Regions from separate parts of the Homo sapiens genome. Here all the other regions are linked to region 1. The links are contacts of gene promoters, found by promoter capture Hi-C in blood cells and fetal thymus (Javierre and others, 2016). All regions are on one chromosome and are shown on one strand. Each heading gives the region's core, a stretch centred on a gene start or on the middle of the fragment in contact. The rest is flanking DNA. Distances are from core to core; before and after follow the strand shown. Region 1 holds the start of ALYREF (Aly/REF export factor). Region 2 overlaps CCDC57 (coiled-coil domain containing 57). Region 3 holds the start of LRRC45 (leucine rich repeat containing 45). Region 4 overlaps CCDC137 (coiled-coil domain containing 137). Region 5 overlaps RFNG (RFNG O-fucosylpeptide 3-beta-N-acetylglucosaminyltransferase).

The links. Contacts are between HindIII fragments. The CHiCAGO score rates a contact against its expected background, and 5 or more counts as called.
Region 2: a fragment that was not itself captured here is called in contact with the fragment with the promoter of ALYREF in region 1 in 1 of 17 cell types (endothelial precursors); the score reaches 5.1 in endothelial precursors.
Region 3: the fragment with the promoter of LRRC45 here is called in contact with the fragment with the promoter of ALYREF in region 1 in 1 of 17 cell types (endothelial precursors); the score reaches 5.2 in endothelial precursors.
Region 4: a contact is called between a fragment that was not itself captured here and the fragment with the promoter of ALYREF in region 1, in 10 of 17 cell types (naive B cells, erythroblasts, megakaryocytes and 7 more). The highest score is 8.5, in naive B cells.
Region 5: a fragment that was not itself captured here is called in contact with the fragment with the promoter of ALYREF in region 1 in 2 of 17 cell types (erythroblasts and endothelial precursors); the score reaches 5.6 in erythroblasts.

Annotation. Positions count from the first base shown.
Region 1 is chr17:81,890,028-81,893,063 of GRCh38, reverse strand. It overlaps ALYREF (Aly/REF export factor), which reads left to right and starts at 1,478. Exons shown (of 6, transcript NM_005782.4): 1 at 1,478-1,741; 2 at 2,244-2,375. The coding sequence starts at 1,484. ANAPC11 (anaphase promoting complex subunit 11) reads right to left here and starts at 1,341. Exons shown (of 4, transcript NM_001002248.3): 1 at 1,223-1,341. RefSeq lists silencers at 1-41, 922-1,461. The HindIII fragment of the contact is 23,230 bases long and covers 1-2,903 here.
Region 2 is chr17:82,135,193-82,138,184 of GRCh38, reverse strand. The region is part of intron 15 of CCDC57 (coiled-coil domain containing 57); the gene reads left to right. Among named protein-coding and RNA genes, the nearest start is that of FASN, 38 kb to the right of the region's middle. The HindIII fragment of the contact is 2,056 bases long and covers 711-2,766 here.
Region 3 is chr17:82,021,730-82,025,060 of GRCh38, reverse strand. It overlaps LRRC45 (leucine rich repeat containing 45), which reads right to left and starts at 1,756. Exons shown (of 17, transcript NM_144999.4): 1 at 1,198-1,756; 2 at 722-783; 3 at 298-368; 4 at 1-61. The coding sequence starts at 1,417. It overlaps CENPX (centromere protein X), which reads left to right and starts at 2,183. Exons shown (of 5, transcript NM_001271006.2): 1 at 2,183-2,235. The coding sequence starts at 2,200. RefSeq lists enhancers at 783-1,706, 3,256-3,331 and a silencer at 1,443-2,492. The HindIII fragment of the contact is 18,366 bases long and covers 1-3,331 here.
Region 4 is chr17:81,669,563-81,672,907 of GRCh38, reverse strand. CCDC137 (coiled-coil domain containing 137) reads right to left here. Exons shown (of 6, transcript NM_199287.3): 3 at 2,455-2,683; 4 at 1,082-1,164; 5 at 753-832; 6 at 1-413. The coding sequence ends at 204. Among named protein-coding and RNA genes, the nearest start is that of CCDC137, 4.5 kb to the right of the region's middle. The HindIII fragment of the contact is 162 bases long and covers 1,594-1,755 here.
Region 5 is chr17:82,047,427-82,050,818 of GRCh38, reverse strand. RFNG (RFNG O-fucosylpeptide 3-beta-N-acetylglucosaminyltransferase) reads left to right here. Exons shown (of 8, transcript NM_002917.2): 3 at 55-157; 4 at 264-417; 5 at 813-901; 6 at 977-1,142; 7 at 1,703-1,788; 8 at 2,012-2,917. The coding sequence ends at 2,093. Among named protein-coding and RNA genes, the nearest start is that of RFNG, 2.7 kb to the left of the region's middle. The HindIII fragment of the contact is 2,210 bases long and covers 693-2,902 here.

The DNA.
Region 1 (3,036 bases), core at 229-2,728:
GCACTCCAGCCTGGGCAACATAGTGGGACTGTCTCAAAAAAAAAAAAAAAAGCCAGCTGTGGTGGCGTGCACCAGCTGCCTGAGAGGCTGACGTGGGAGGATAGCTCGAGCCCAGGAGTTTGAGGCTGCAGTGAGCCAAGATCACACCACTGCACTCCACTCTGGGTGACGGAGGGAGACCCTGACTCAAAAAACAAAAACAAAAGCAAGTATCTCAAAACAACTTAAAATCCATGAAATGGGCTGGGTGTGGTGGCTCATGCCTGTAATCCCAGCACTTTGGGAGGCCAAGGCGGGCGGATCATCTGAGGTCAGGAGTTCAAGACCACCCTGGCCAACATGGCGAAACCCTGTCTCTATTAAAAATACAAACATTAGCCAGGTATGGTGGCACGTGCCTGTAGTCCCAGCTACTCGGGAGGCTGCCGCTGGAGACTCGCTTGAACCCAGGAGGCAGAGGTTGCAGTGAGCCGAGATCGCCCCACTGCACTCCAGCCTGGGCGACAGAATGAGACTGCCTCAAAAAAAAAAAAAAAAAATCAATGAAATGGCACACTGGTTTTCATTAATAAGTTGCAAAAATAATTTTTTTTTGGAGACAGGGTCTGGCTCTGTCGCCCAGGCTGGAGTGCAGTGGTGCCACCACGGCTCACTGCAGCCTCGACCTCCTGGGCTCAAGCAATCCTCCCACCTCGGCCTCCCAAGTAGCTGGTAGTACAGAAGTGCACCACCATGCCCAGCTCATTTTTTTTTTTAGAGATGGGGGTCTCACGATGTTGCCCCGGCTGGTCTCAAACTCCTGGGCTGAAGCGAACCTCTTGCCTCGGCCTCCCAAAGTGCTGGGATTACAGGCGTGAGGCCCGCGCCCGGCCCGCAAGAAAACTTGTAAAGGATATGACTGGCAAAATGTGACAGTGCAGACTTGGGGGGGCTGCAGGTGGAGACCAAAAAACCAACCCGCAGCTCGTCTGCAGCGGCTGCCGCCCGCCGAAGCCGCGCCCGCCGGACCCCACCGCGAGCCGAGCGCACAGTCCTGGGCGGGAGCGGAAACAAGGACTCCCAGCAGCTCCCAGGCACCCGCCGCGCCCGTAGCGCCCCCAGCGCCCCCAGCCCTGGCCGATCGGGCGGAGCGTGCGGGGAGGGAGGGGCGCGTAGGCTCCGCCTCCAACGGCCGCCGCCCCACCCCCTGCGCCCTCGCACCTTCGCCAACCTAATCACGCACCGCCCTACCCGCCCTTCCGTTGGCAGCGCCGGCGTCCGCGCGGGAAGGTATAAAAACGACCACAGTCGCGGCCCGACTCCCTCAACAGCGCCCGCCGAGTCTCGCACGCCAGTGCGCACGCGCCTCCCCGCCTCACCCCGTCCCGCGCGCGCAGCCGTCCGCCAGCGGCCAATCAGCAGCCGCTCCGAGGCCGTGGCACCGGAAGGCCTCACGCGGCGCCGGAAGTGACGTGCCGGCGTGCTGACGCGCGGGCTCGAGCCGATGCCCGATTCCGCGCCCGCCATGGCCGACAAAATGGACATGTCTCTGGACGACATCATTAAACTGAACCGGAGCCAGCGAGGCGGCCGGGGCGGGGGCCGGGGCCGCGGCCGGGCCGGCTCCCAGGGCGGCCGCGGCGGTGGGGCGCAGGCCGCCGCGCGAGTGAATCGAGGCGGCGGGCCCATCCGGAACCGGCCGGCCATCGCCCGCGGCGCGGCCGGCGGAGGCGGCAGGAACCGACCGGCGCCCTACAGCAGGGTGAGTGCGGAGGCCGGCCGCGCCGGAGAGTGGGAGGGGGCCAGCCGGGGCTGGGGCCGGGGCCGCTCGCGGCGGAGACCCGGGCCGGCGGGTGGATAAGGCTGGTGGAGCGGCCGCCCGGAGGTCCGGAGGGTGCGTGTGGGCGCGGAGGGGGTGGTGGGCGGGAGCGAGGTCGTTCTTTCGGGGTCCGGTCCCGGAGGCTGAGACCCTTCCCAGCTCTTTGTTTGTTCCGGACGTTGGGGCCTCGTGGCAGGAGAGGAGGGGACGCTGGGCGCGGCACAGGCGGCGGGAAGTTAGTCTAAGGGAACTGAAGTTGTGCGGCCGCGGTGGGACCGTGCGGCCTCGGGCTGGGGCAGCTGCAGCGCCGGAGGGAGCGCTGGCGGCCCCGTTTCGGCCGGATCCTCTCAGGCCGGGAAGAGGAAGGGTCCGGAGTAGCCGTGAGGGTCAGGAAAGCCCTGGACTGAGACTCACAGATCTGCTCTTGTTGCGGTTTTTTTTTCAGCCAAAACAACTTCCCGACAAGTGGCAGCACGATCTTTTCGACAGTGGCTTCGGCGGTGGTGCCGGCGTGGAGACAGGTGGGAAACTGCTGGTGTCCAATCTGGATTTTGGAGTCTCAGACGCCGATATTCAGGTAAGAGACGAGGGCTTCTCGGTGAGCCGTTCGCCCTGCACAGGACGGATCGTGATTTTGGGGATGTGGCCCTGAGTCCCCTTCCCGCCTTAGCGAAGGGAGCCCTCCCAGCTCTGAAGGGCTGCAGGACAGACCCAGTGCTAGTAAAGCCGGGGTCAGTGCGCAGGCAGGTGCGAGCCTAGCTGAGCCTGAGGAACTGCTGCTGTTAGTCTGAAGATGGGTTCTGTGAGTGAAAATCCCCTGCCAGGGCTTCCAGTTTCTAACAGGGACAAAGACTGACCAAATGTGAGTGGTTTTTGGCTGTTAGACCCAGCCCAGTTGCTTTTTAAATTTTGTGCCTGTCTTAGTGGGTTAATGTGAGAAAAAGAATCTTCTTTATGTATCTTGTGAAGCACAGGGAGTCTGTTTTTCTGGCTCTGTTTGCCTTGAGTACTGTCTTATAAAGACCTTGTACGCTGTGGTTTTATCACTCCCCACCGCCGTGTCCCGTCAGTGACATGACTCTCAAATCCATCTTTGGTTGAAGCTTTTCTTTTTTAAAAAAAGAAAAATTGAATCCCAATGGCATTTCAACTTGTTTTCTGGTTAAGAAATGACTTTTTGGGAATCAGTTTTGGAGATGGCTGGGCAGGGTTCAGTTGCCCACAGCCCAGCCATTTGC
Region 2 (2,992 bases), core at 489-2,988, 240 kb before region 1:
AGAGCGAGACTCCGTCTCAAAAAAAAAAAAAAAAAAAGAGATCCTCCTGCCTCAGCCTCCCAAGTAGCTGGGACCACAAGCGCATGCCACCACACCCCACCTTGTACCTAATTATTTCAAATACCTCTCTTTTTATAAGAAAAAAATTTTGTGATTTTCCAGGGAACTTCTAGGACATCTCATAGATCATTTTAAATATAAAAGGTCTCCTGGGGCTGGGCACAGTGGCTCACACCTGTAATCCCAGCACTTTGGGAGGCCGAGGCAGGTGGATCACGAGGTCAAGAGATCAAGACCATCCTGGCCAACAAGGTGAAACCCCGCGTCTACTAAAAATACAAAAATTAGCCAGGCATGGTGGCGGGTGCCTGTAATCCCAGCTACCCGGGAGGCTGAGGAAGGAGAACCGCTTGAACCAAGAAGTCAGAGGTTGCAGTGAGCCGAGATTGCGCCACTGCACTCCAGCCTGGCGACACAGCGAGACTCCATCTCAAAAAAAAAAAAAAGAAAAGTCTCCTGAAAGCTTTATTTTATTTGACATTTAGAATTCAATTTTGAGAAGGAAAAAAAAATGTCAGGAGATTTGAACATTAAGACTCATGGGTACCTGAGAAATAATATTTAGCTACCCACGTGAAAGTGACAAAAAGCTTAAACATAGGAGAGAACAGTTATAGAGAAACTTAGCTCTTTCATAAGCATGGGAAGCTTTGTTTTCTGAAACCATCAAGACATAATAAGTCAACAAAAGCACGGAAAATTACCCTGGTAAGACAGCACCTTTGCTGTCTGAACAGATTACATAGAAAGTAAAGAATAACCCTTCATAGTTTAGGGGAAGTCAATAAATAGTAAACGAAGGAAGGCTGGGTGCAGTGGCTCACGCCGGTAATCCCAGCACTTCGGGAGGCCGAGGTGGGCGGATCATAGGATGCTTGCAGGAGTTCAAGACCAGCCTGGCCAACACGGTGAAACCCCTTGTCTACTAAAAATACAAAAATTAGCCGGGCATGGTGGCAGGTGCCTGTAATCCAAGCTACTGAAGAGGCTGAGGCGGGAGAATTGCTTGAACCTGGGAAGTGGAGGTTGCAGTGAGCCAACATCACACCACTGCACTCCATCCAGCCTGGATGACAGAGCAAGACTCTGTCTCAAAAAAAAAAAAAAAAAAGTAGTACACCAAGGAAACAAACCCATCAAAATTGGGCTAACTTTGCTAAGATTTTAACACATTTCATGGCTTTTTAAAAAACTAGCTTTCTTTCAACCAAGTAAGGATTGAGAAAACAAGACCTAGCTTTCAGCTGGGTGCAGTGGCTCATGCCTCTAATCCCAGCCCTTTGGGAGGCCAAGGGAGGAGGATCACTTGAGGCTAGGAGTTTGAGACTAACCTGGGCAGAATAGTGACACCCTGTCTCTACTAAAAAACAAAAAACTTGGCTGGGTGTGGTCCCAGCTACTTGGGAGGCTGAGGTGGGAGGATCGCTTGAGCCCAGGAGGTGGAGGCTGCAGTGAGCCGCGATTGCACCACTGCACTCCAGCCTGGGTGACAGAGCAAGACTCTGTCTCAAAAAAACTAGTTTTCTTTTTTTTTTTTTTTTTTTGGTACTATACATATAAAATGTACTGTTGAAAGCTCATGAAGTATACAAAGTATACAGTTCAGTGCATTAAGCACGTCAAGAATGTTGTGCGAGCATCATCATTTGTTCCAGAATTCCTTTCACTTCAGAGGAAACCCCACACTCATTCGCAGTTGCTTCCTGTCCCCCGCCCAGCACCCACATTCTGCCTCCATGCCTTTGCCTGTTCTGGACGTTTCACTTCAGCAGGATCCCACAGGATGTGTCCCTTTGTGCCTGGCTTCTTTCCCTCTGTGTCCTGTTTGAGGGTCCCTCGTGCTGGGGCGTCTGCACTTAATTCCTTTCCATGGGAAGAGCTCTTTGCTGGGGGACAGGCCACTGTAGGCATTTGTCCATCAGTTTGATGGACATTTGGATGGTTTCCGCCTTTGGGCTATTGTGAATAATATTGCTGTGAACATTCAGTTCTCTTGGATGCCTCCCTAGAAGTGGCCTTGCTGGGTCATGTGGGAATTCTGTGTCTAACCTGGTAAGGAGCCACCAAACCGCCTCCCATGCCCACCAGCTGCGCACGAAGGTTCTGATTTCTCCACATCTGCACCAGCACTTGCTATTTTCTGTCGGGGTTTTTTTTAATTAAGAATACTTTTATTGCATATCTTTAAAAACTTTATTTTTTTTATATTTAAAAAAATTTCTTTTAAAAATAGAGGTGGGATCTCACTGTGTTGCCCACGCCAGTATCCAACACCTGACATCAAGGATCCCCCCCACCCGGCCTCCCAGTGTGCTGGGGTTACAGGTGTGAGCCACCGCACCCAGCTGTTTTCTATCCTGTTGATCCCAGCCAACCTAGTGGGTGTGAGGCGGGATCCCATAGTGGGCTTGATTTTACATTCTCCTGGTGACCAATGGTGTTGAGTGTCTTCAGGAGGTTTTTGCCCACACGTGCATCTTCTGACTTCATGGCTTTTAAATTCAGGTGTTTATAAACCAAGGGAAACACGTTCATTTCCAAGTGTCATCTTTGGGTTCTTTTATTGCGTAGAAGAAACTGATGCTTTACTTGAGGGCCCATCTCGGGATGTCCACAGGGCAGAGCTAATCCTGCGATGCTCCTCAGATGTTGATCATAAGCAATATGTTCATCATGGCTAACTTCAAGTTAATTGATAAAAAAGCTTTAAAATTTTTCTGTTTTGACCAGGCACATGGCTCACACCTGTATTCCCAGCACTTTGGGAGGCCAAGGCGGGCAGATCACCTGAGGTCGGGAATTCGAGACCAGCCTGACCAACATGGAGAAACCCCGTCTCTACTAAAAATACAAAATTAGCCGGGCGTGGTGGCGCATGCCTGTAATCCCAGCTACTTGGGAGGCTGAGGCAGGAGAATTGCTTGAACCCAGG
Region 3 (3,331 bases), core at 507-3,006, 130 kb before region 1:
CCCGCAGAAGGTGGCGAAGGCATCGTCCCACGTGCCCAGGCTGTTCCACTCCAGCGTGAGGCTGCAGGAGGGGCAGAAGCCAGTGTTCACCTAGGGGACTGCCTAGCCCGTGGGGTCCAGGGCTTGGGGACGGGTGTGGGCTTGGGGTCTGATGGGCCGGAGCCTCTGCCTACCCCTGCCAACGTATGTGAAACATGGGCACCTGGCAATGGGGAACTCTTGGGCTGCAGAAGCATGTGCTCGGGGCCAATCCTCAACCACACAGAGACAGGGCCTGGGGTCGGGACCACCACCCACCTCTGAATGGACTTGTTCTGTTGGAGGAGTTTTCCCAGAGCCTCGGCCCCTGCAGCCCGAAGGTTGTTGCCCTAGGAGAGAAACAGGCCGGTAGTCACTCGCGTGCCCTGACTGGCTCTGAATTCCCGCCCATGCCCCAAGGGCCTTGGTCAGCCAGGGGACAAGCCTGGGGTGCACCCTGCAGCCTTCCTCAGCTCCTGGGCTCCCTGTCTTCAGGGGGCTTCCAAGGGCCGGCTTGTTTGCCAATGTGAACTCTTGCTCTGGAGATGGTCACACACAGGAGGCCATCAGAGAGCGGCCTGGGGACTCACAGACAGCTTCCAGCCACCTGCCCAGACCCCAGGCCCCCGAGACCTGGCATCTTCCACCTCTCCTCTTGCCCTTGGGTGGCACACTCGGACACTCAAGAGTGCAGGTATCTCACCTTTAAGTCCAGAAAGCGCAGCACGGTGTTGGCACACAGGCCTCGGAGCAGCAGTGTGGCCCCTGTGTAAGGGGGGCCGGCGGTCACTCTCTGCCCCTGCTGACCCCAAGGCCCTCCCCGTGGGCCCCTTTTCAGGGCAGCTCCCTAGACCCAGGAAGGGACAACTGTCCCGATGGTCTGGGTTGGCGCTGGCCAAGAGTCTCGCTGCGAAGTCATGTTTGAAACACCTGCAGCCCCTGCCAGGCACCAAGCCGGCTCTGCACGCGGGGAACCAGGTAAGACCGCGAATGTTAAGGCCTCTCCCCCGTCATACAGAGGAACTGCCCTCTACTCCCAGGTGCAGGAAGGGGCGCCCCTGCTCGCTTTAACTACGGCACAGAAATTGGAGAGCCTGGAGAGGAAGCGACCTCGGGCTGCCGAGGCAATGGTGTGGGCAGCTAAGGAGCAGAGGGATCCACCCCGCCGCGCCTGCCCACCTTCCTCGCTGAGCATGCAGTCACTCAGGACCAGCTCCGTGCACAGCGTCTCCCTCGGCAGCAGCTTGCCCAGGGCCCTGCAGGTCTCCACCGTCAGGCTTTGCGTGGCCAGGTCCAGCCGGCCCCTGGGAAGCTGGTGCAGCTGCTGCAGGACAGCCTCCTGGGGCTCGGCCCCACTCTCCCTGCACAGGCGGCTGTAGGAGCGCCGGAACTCCTCCATGACCCGCGGGGCCGGCAGGGCCTCCTCCGCATGCTCCCGCAGCTGCTGAAAGGGAGCCGCGCGGTGCGGAGCAGTCCCAGCGCCGGGTACAGGAGACGGGGCCTCCGCCGACCCGGGCGGAGAGCAATCCGAGTGGGCTCCGCGGGCGGGAGGTCCTGGGAGCGCGGGGCTGGGCGGTAGTCAAGGTCCGCTTTGGGCTGGGGCCCCGCAGTGCTTGGGGACCACCCGTGCAGGAAGCAGGCAGGTGCGTCGCGCGCCCCCACCCAGCCCTGCCCCGCCTGCAGCCCCGACCCCCGCCCTCGCGACAGCCGCGTCGGGGCCTCAGTATCCAGGAAGAACAAGGCGCGCCGGGAGAGGCCGCGGGAACTACAACTCCTAGCAGGCTCTGCGCAGGCAGCGCTTGGTGCGGGCCAATGAGAACAAAGGAACTGGCGCGCCTTTCGGGCCGCAAGCTGAGAGGGGGCAGCGCGCTCCAGGTTCATTGGCTAGGGGCATGAGGGTGGGGCCCCGGGAGGGCATGCTCCGGGCTCATTGGCTGAGGGTCGTGAGGGTGGTGCCCCGGGAGGGCGCGTTCCAAGTTCATTGGCTGCGGGACGTGAGGGAGGGGCTGCTGGAGGGCGCGCTCCGGGCTCATTGGCTGAGACGTGGGGGCGGGGCTCCGAGAGCAGGCGCTTCGGACTCATTGGCTAGGGGCGCGGGGCGGGGCTCCGGGGGCGCGCTCCGGTCTCATTGGCTGGAGGCGCGGGGCGGGGTTCCGGTGGGCGCGCGTTGAGGCTGCGGTCATGGAGGGAGCAGGAGCTGGATCCGGCTTCCGGAAGGTGAGGGCCGGAGGGCAGGGGCTAGGCAGGCGCGGACGCTCCGTCCCGACCTCACGCGTGACACTGTGAGGGCCAGACGCCAGCCCCCGCGCCGCCCCCTGTGCCTTTGAGGTTGGGCCCGTTCTCAGACTCCATCTCCGGCCGGGCCGCGCGCCCCGCGCCCTCGTGGGCTGGTGTCTCGCAGCTGGTAGGAGGGGGCGTGGAGCAGCCGGGGCTGCGGGAAGGTGGAGAGGGTCTGCAGAAACAGGCAGGGGTGGGCGCCGTCACGGCGGAGTCCAAGCCGGCGAAGAGAGAGGAGGAGCTGGGCCGCCGCCCTGCGCCCTGAGCCTGGGGTCTTTTGTTAAGGGGAGATGAGGCCCCAGGACGGGGACAGTGAGATCGTCCAGCCCGAGGAGCCGGCAGGACCTACCCCAGCCGCCAGGCACAGTGGTTTCCCTTTTGTTTGCTCCCCGGTGGGCGCCAGCACTGGGCTAGGAACGCGTGGTTTCTTCGGTGCTCCACGTTACACACACTTGACAGGGATTAACCCCACCTGCCAGTGGAGAAACTGAGGCACGGGGGCGTTAAGTGACTCAGCAGGGCTAGGGTCAGACCTAGGCCGTCTGAGCCAGGATCCGCCCAGGCTGGAGGGCGTGCCCTGCTCTTCCCTGTTCCTGGAAGTGGAGCTCTCTGGGGGTGCCATGTGCAGAGGACCCCATCGGTGCAGGCAGAGTGGTTTCTGAACCTTTCTACTGCTCTACCTGAAGGTTGGGGCACCGAGCTTCCTCGATGTCAGCAGGGCCTCGTGGGCCTCTGTGGCCTGGGAAGGGAGGGTCTCAGGCCCTTGTGAACCCATCCTGGAGGGAGGACTTCAGCCCTGTAGAAGCAGGGAGAATTCTGTTTCTCCTGAATCAGGCCCTTCTTTATCACCCAAGGCAGCAGGCGTGGGGGGCGGGGGGTGTCGGTGTGGGGAACTCTGGTGGTGGAGTTGAAGATTCTTGCCGGAATTCAGAAAGAGAAAGTCACTGAGGCTTGGGCCACCTCACTGGGTGGTTGTGAGAACACCAGGTTAAAGTAGCCAAAAGGCCACTGCCGGAGACGGGGCACTGGGTACACA
Region 4 (3,345 bases), core at 425-2,924, 220 kb after region 1:
GCCGTCTGTCAACCAGGCCTTGGCCCTAGTCCATCGGGCACTCACCCCCTGCAAGATGTGGACCCACTAGTGCCCAACGTGTGAACAAGTAGCTGGAGGCCTCACCCCACACTGCTGGCATGGCCTGCCTCTCTCCTACCCAGGTGTAGCAGCTCCTGGTGCCAGTTGCCCCAGAGCGTGGCCAGGCCCCGGGTGTCTCTCCATCACAGCTGCGGCTCTGGCTTCTTCCGGGAAGTGAGGTGGGGTCGCTCCCCGTGCAGCTGCTGCTGCCGCTGCTTCAACGCTCTGTAGGCCTGCACGGCCCGCTCTCTCTCCTCCTCCACAATCCGCTGGCGGGCCAGGGAGGCGGTCAGAGGCTGGGACACACCACCGGGGCTCAGAAGCATCCGCAGCATCTGCGATCTCCTGCCAGGCTGAGGGAGAGAGGGGAGGGTGAGGCACAGGCTGGGAAAGGAGGGGATGCAACAGAAAGCCTCACAGCTTCAACAGCTCTCCCGCCAGCGAGAACACTGCACTCTCAGGCCACACACCAGACAGCGCACACGTTGGCTGAGGGTTTTTTTTTTTCTTGACACAGGATCTCGCTATGTTGTCCAGGCTGGTATCAACTCCTGGGCTCAAGCAATCCGCCTGCCTTGGCCTCCCAATGTGCTGGGATTACAGGTGTGACCCACCGTGTCCAGCCTGTCCAAGGCTTCTGTTCCCTGGCAGCACTGGGGGACAAACTCAAGTTGTCCCCGTGCCCCACTTACCTGGTCCTTGCTTACGCTCCTCTGGGGCCTGGCAGTCAGCTCTGGGGGCTGCAGGACAACCTCACCAAACTTCACCGTGTCTGGAGGAGCAGAATACAACTGAGGACTGCTGCCCACAGCCACTGCACCCCTGACACCCAGAGCCACCACCCGCCCACCTCCCTCCCATAGGGCTGGGACAGAACACCAACTCATCCAGTGGTCTAATGGCTGTGGACCCCAGGGGAAACCACAGGTGCCCAGTGCAGCCAGGGCTGGTGGGGAACAGAAGGCCTGCGCCCAGGCCCCACCCGGACCACTGCTGACACCATCGCTTTGGGAAGAGCTACCTCGGAGCAACTCCTGCTCCAGCCTGTCTGCCGCCTTTTCCTCCTTTTTCCGTCGGACTTTATCTAGTCGCCGCTTCTGGAACCTGGGGAAGAAAGCACATGTCACTCAGATTCCTAAATTCTCTTTCCACCCAGGGAGGAGGCAGAGGCCGCCCCACCCACAAGGGATCCCCTGTGGCAGAGCAGGGACCCAAGAACAGGTGGCTGCCTCCAAGTCCCCGCTCCCCTTACCACCCCAAAACCCACAGCTGCCCACCAAAGAAGGCTCTGACCCCAACAGGCCCCTCACAGGTCCCCCAGTGGTTCTCAGCTGGGGACAGCTACCTGCCAGGGAACATCTGACAATGTGTGCAGACACGTGGGCAAGGGCTACTGGCACCTTGTGCACGAAGGCTGGGAAGGCTGCCAAAGACCACCCAACAGAGACTCATCCAGCCCATCCGGTGCTGCTGTGTCTAAAGGGCCTAACAAGCATTGTATATCACGTCTCCCTCAATGTGAATCTGGAAGCTTCACCTTCAGCGACAGCTCTGGAGATCACCGTGGCGCCAGGCTGTATCTGGGCCACGTTCTCTGTGATGAACTTTCACTGGCTAAGGTAACTATAAGTAATACAACAATCCAGAAACAGGGAATCTACAGAGCTGAAAGCAACCTCTCAAACCTTCAAAGCTTTTTTTTTTTTTTCTTTTTTTTGAGATGGAGTCTCGCTCTGTCACCAGGCTGGAGTGCAGCGGCACGATCTCAGCTCACTGCAACCTCTGCCTCCCGGATTCAAGCGATTCCACTGCCTCAGGCTCCCAAGTATCTGGAATTACAGGCATGCACCACCACGCCCGGCTAATTTTTTTTTTTGTATTTTATTAGAGACAAGGTTTCACCGTGTTGGCTAGGATGGTCTCGATCTCCTGACCTCGTGATCCACCTGCCTCAGCCTCCCAAAGTGCTGGGATTACAGGCGTGAGCCACTGTACTCGGCCAAAGCTTTTAGAGAATTAGGAAGGTGTAGTCTCTTGGACGAGAGACATTCTGTTCTAATGGAAACAGAACCCCTGGGCACGTCACCCTCAGACCGACCCCCTCAGGGCTGATTCCCACAGGGCTAGGGCTTTCTGGTGCTTTTCCTGTGAAAGCAAGGACCAAGCGAGGTCTCCGCAGAGTTCCCAGGTTCCGCAGCCTCCTGGAGGCCACACCCTCACTGGCTCCCAGCTGGATGCTCCGACTCGCCAACTCCCAGGGCTCTGGCTTGGTCTCCCTGAATCCAGGCTGCCCCATGGCTATGAAACAGGGTACCTGCAGAGGGCCGTCATGGGAACCCAATGTCTTCCCTCCGGCTCCCAGGGCAGACCCCTCCCCCTCCCGCCTCCACTCACGCTTTTTTTGCTTTTTTCTGCTCAGACTTCTCCTTGGGAGCTGCCTGCACCTCTGGCTGCCGGATGGCCTGGTTCTTGCTGAGGAACAGCACATGCTGGGCCTCTTGCTGCATGCGGTGGATATAGGCCCCGTCAGACTCCCCCTTCCTCTGTTTGAACTTGGGGACTGCGATGTCGGGCTCCTCTCCCTTTGCTTCCTTCTCCAATGTCTTTCTGAAGGTCACCTGGGCTGAGGACAAAGGGAGGCCTCAGAGGAGGCAGGAGGCAGACAGTGGCAGGCAGGTGACCCATGCTCATTTCCCCTCCCAAAGCCACAGGAAGGGAAGACCAGGCTGGCTGGAAGCACCCCAACGACAGCAGCTGAAGAGGATGTAGAATGCCCGGCCCGGCATCCCCGGGGACGTGACCCCCCAGCCCAATGGCACCTGTCACAGATGTCCACTGCAGCACAGCTGAAAAAGGAAAGCAGAAACAACCTAATGTCCACCCCTAGGTGGCTGGTTGAATGAATTCTCCTCTGATCACCCACAGACTCCATTGCACAGCTGCCGAAAGAAGCCCAGTGGAGCTACACAGAGAAACGTGGGCAGACCTGCCGGGCGCGGTGGCTCATGCCTGTAATCCCAGCACTTTGGGAGGCCAAGATGGGCAGATCACAAGGTCAGGAGATTCAGACCATCCTGGCTAACACGGTGAAACCCTGTCTCTACTAAAAACACAGAAAAAATTAACTGGGCATGGTGGTGGGCGCCTGTAGTCCCAACTACTCGGGAGGCTGAGGCAGGAGAATGGCGTGAACCCGGGAGGCGGAGCTTGCAGTGAGCCGAGATTGCGCCACTGCACTCCAGCCTGGGCGACTGAGCGAGACTCCATCTCAAAAAAGAAACGTGG
Region 5 (3,392 bases), core at 548-3,047, 160 kb before region 1:
ACCCCAACCCCAGTGCCATCCTCTACGTGCGTGCTTCCCGTCTCTGATTCGCAGGCGACCGTGTCATCAACACCAACTGCTCGGCGGTGCGCACTCGTCAGGCCCTCTGCTGCAAGATGTCCGTGGAGTATGACAAGTTCATTGAGTCCGGGCGCAAGTACGCGGCGCTGACCCGACCCGCAGAGAGCTCAGAGCCAAGCTGGGTGGGGGCCTCCTGTCCAGCCATGCCAGGCCCTCGTGCCCAGGACTCCCCTCGCCCACAGGTGGTTTTGCCACGTGGATGATGACAATTATGTGAACGCCAGGAGCCTCCTGCACCTGCTCTCCAGCTTCTCACCCAGCCAGGACGTCTACCTGGGGCGGCCCAGCCTGGACCACCCCATTGAGGCCACCGAGAGGGTCCAGGGTGGCAGAACTGTGAGTGTCGGAGCAGACGCCATCGGAGCAGACGCCTTCCTTGACACCAGCCCGGGAGGCACAGCAGAGGGCGTGGAAAGCTGGCTTGAGAAGGGCATAGGGTTGGGGGCCCAAGCTGATCCACCCAGGTGGTTTGCATGTGGTGTTTCAGGAGCAGGCCAGGAGGCCCTCACCGTACTGGGCAGAGAGGGGGTGTCTGGGCCAGGTGGGGAGGGTCTGGAGGCTACGGGTCAATGGCCTGCAGAAGCCCCCGGCTCTTTTTGCTCCAAGAAGCTTCTGTTACCTGGGTGGGATCTCCTAAGGGGCAGCTTAAGAAAGATGCCTGGGGAGTCCCATGAAGAGTCAGGGGTGAGAAGCCCTGTCCTGGGCAGCTCTGACCACCACCCCATCTTCAGGTGACCACGGTCAAGTTCTGGTTTGCTACTGGTGGGGCCGGGTTCTGCCTCAGCAGAGGCCTTGCCCTCAAGATGAGCCCATGGGCCAGGTGAGTGGGGGTCCAGCTGCCCGGGCTGGGAGGCGGAGGCTGAGACCTGAAAGGTGCTGACCGGCCTCCCCCCAGCCTGGGCAGCTTCATGAGCACAGCTGAGCAGGTGCGGCTGCCGGATGACTGCACAGTTGGCTACATCGTGGAGGGGCTCCTGGGCGCCCGCCTGCTGCACAGCCCCCTCTTCCACTCTCACCTGGAGAACCTGCAGAGGCTGCCGCCCGACACCCTGCTCCAGCAGGTACAGGCGCCACTCTGGGTGCCTCTGCCACCTGGGCTTTGCCCCGCCCTGACTCCCCCAGGGGCCCCACTGCCCCGGCCCGATGCCCGGCTGAGCAGGCAGGTGGGATTTGCATGTGGCTGGGGGTGGACCCTGGACAGGCCCCTTGGCCTGTTGGACACAGGGTCCTCACGTACAGATGGGGTATGGTGTCTGGGGCAGAGGAACGAGGGGAGAAGCACAGTTCTCGGGCCAGTGAGGCCCCATGCCAGCTGGGCAGTGGGTGTGGTGTGTATGGTGATGGTGAGTCGGAACAGGTCCCATCACGTGGAGCAGGGAGGGAATGAGGGTCAGCTTTGCCCTGGAGGTTTCAGATCCCTATCTTCTGTCCCCCAGGCTCTGCCTGAGGTGTCCCCCTACTCAGCTCATGCCATGCTTCAATGCTGTTTCCAAGCCTGGCCTCCCCGAGGGCCTGGGGAGAGGGGGTGGGCAAAGGGGCTCTAGCAGGGCTCCTGGCCAGGGGCAGGCGTGGCCCGAGACCAGACCAGGCCACACACTCTGCCCACACCCTTCCCTCCCAGGTTACCTTGAGCCATGGGGGTCCTGAGAACCCACATAACGTGGTGAACGTGGCTGGAGGCTTCAGCCTGCATCAAGACCCCACACGGTGAGTAGGTAGTGGCATGGGCAGGCCCTCGGCCCCGCAGGGGCTCTGGCATCAGCTCCCTCTACCCACGGCCCTGACCCCCGCTGCTCCCTCCGCCCACGGCCCTGACCCCGGCTTCTCCCTGTACCCACGGCCCTGACCCCAGGTTCTCCCGCCGCCCACGGCCCTGGCCCCCGCTTCTCTCTCCGCCCACGGCCCTGACCCCTACTTCTTCCTTCCCCAGGTTTAAGTCTATCCATTGTCTTCTGTACCCAGACACGGACTGGTGTCCCAGGCAGAAACAGGGCGCCCCGACCTCTCGGTGACACCAACCACCCCGACCCAGGGCTGCCTGGCTCTGTCCCAGGCGCGGGGAACCAGAGCCCCCTATGGGCTCAGTGGGCTCCCTCAGGTGCCACGGCCACACCAGTGAGATGCAGGCACCTGGCAGACCCTCTGGCTAGCCTGCAGCCCCCCCTCTCCCAGCCCCTGGTGGGCTGCGGTGATGGGTGTTTTGGGAGAACGAAGACAGCCAGGCTGATGGCCAGGGCCGCAGTGCCCCTCCCCCCGACCCAGCCCCAAGGTTGATCCCACGGGAACAGGCTTCCACCCCAGCACTTGCGCACCTGGGAGGGAGCTGCCATCCGGGCTCCATTACCTGTTGCTGAAGGCGGGTGCTAGGCTGGCTGGGTGTCAAGGAGCAGGCTCCAGGCCAAGGTCCTGGCCCAGCCACGGCCATTGCAAGGGCTCAGCCTGGCAGGCTTTGTGGGGGACGCCGCCCTCTCTGCCGCAGGCTGGGTGCACGGCCGGGCACCACAGTGGGACTCAGGCCCGGGAAGGTCATGTTCTCGACCAGAGCTTTGCTCCCAGTCCAGGCGCCTCATTCGGAGGCCTCTTGACTGGGACCACAGAGATGTTTTCTCCGCTCTGACTTGTGGCTCAGGACTACTTTCTGGGTCGTGCTCCTGCCCCACTGTGCCTGGGCCCATAAACAACAGGAGCCTTTTGTTCCGCTGACCTGCCCATCCCAGCAGACCCACCTCCCCGCCTGGTGCCTTCCATGGAGGGAAATGGGACAGGGGCCGTCATCTCCCCTCTGCCTCCTGCTTTGCTGTTGCCGAGCACGAGTAAAGCTTTTGTTCTTACTTCACGTGGCTCCTGTCTTAGTCACCCACCGGCCCAGCTCTCCTCGGGTCCCTGCCATATCCCCCTTCTACCCCAGGAAGGCTCTGTCCCAGGCAGGGCTGTATCCTTGCCGTCCTGCCCACCCAGCCTTGAACCCACCAGACTCTTCTTTGGAAGCCAAAATCTCCAGCAGAGGTGGCGTGCGAGGGTCCCGCCGGGAGGGACGGACACTGGACGCTGCCCTGAGAGGCCGCCTTCCTGAGCATCGTGCTTGCCTCCTCCCGTGTGTTGTGTGGAGCCAGGTGCACGTGGGTGTGTATGAGGGTGGGTGTGCGTGGGCGTGTACACGAAGCTCAGTGGACACATTGAGAGTGGGTGTGTACGTGCATGTAGGTGAGTATCCACCCGTGTGTGCGTCTGTGTGCATCAGTGGGTGTGTGCGTGGCAGTGTCTGCGTGCGTGGGTGTGTGCACTTGTGCGTGGGTGTGTGGAGGGCAAAG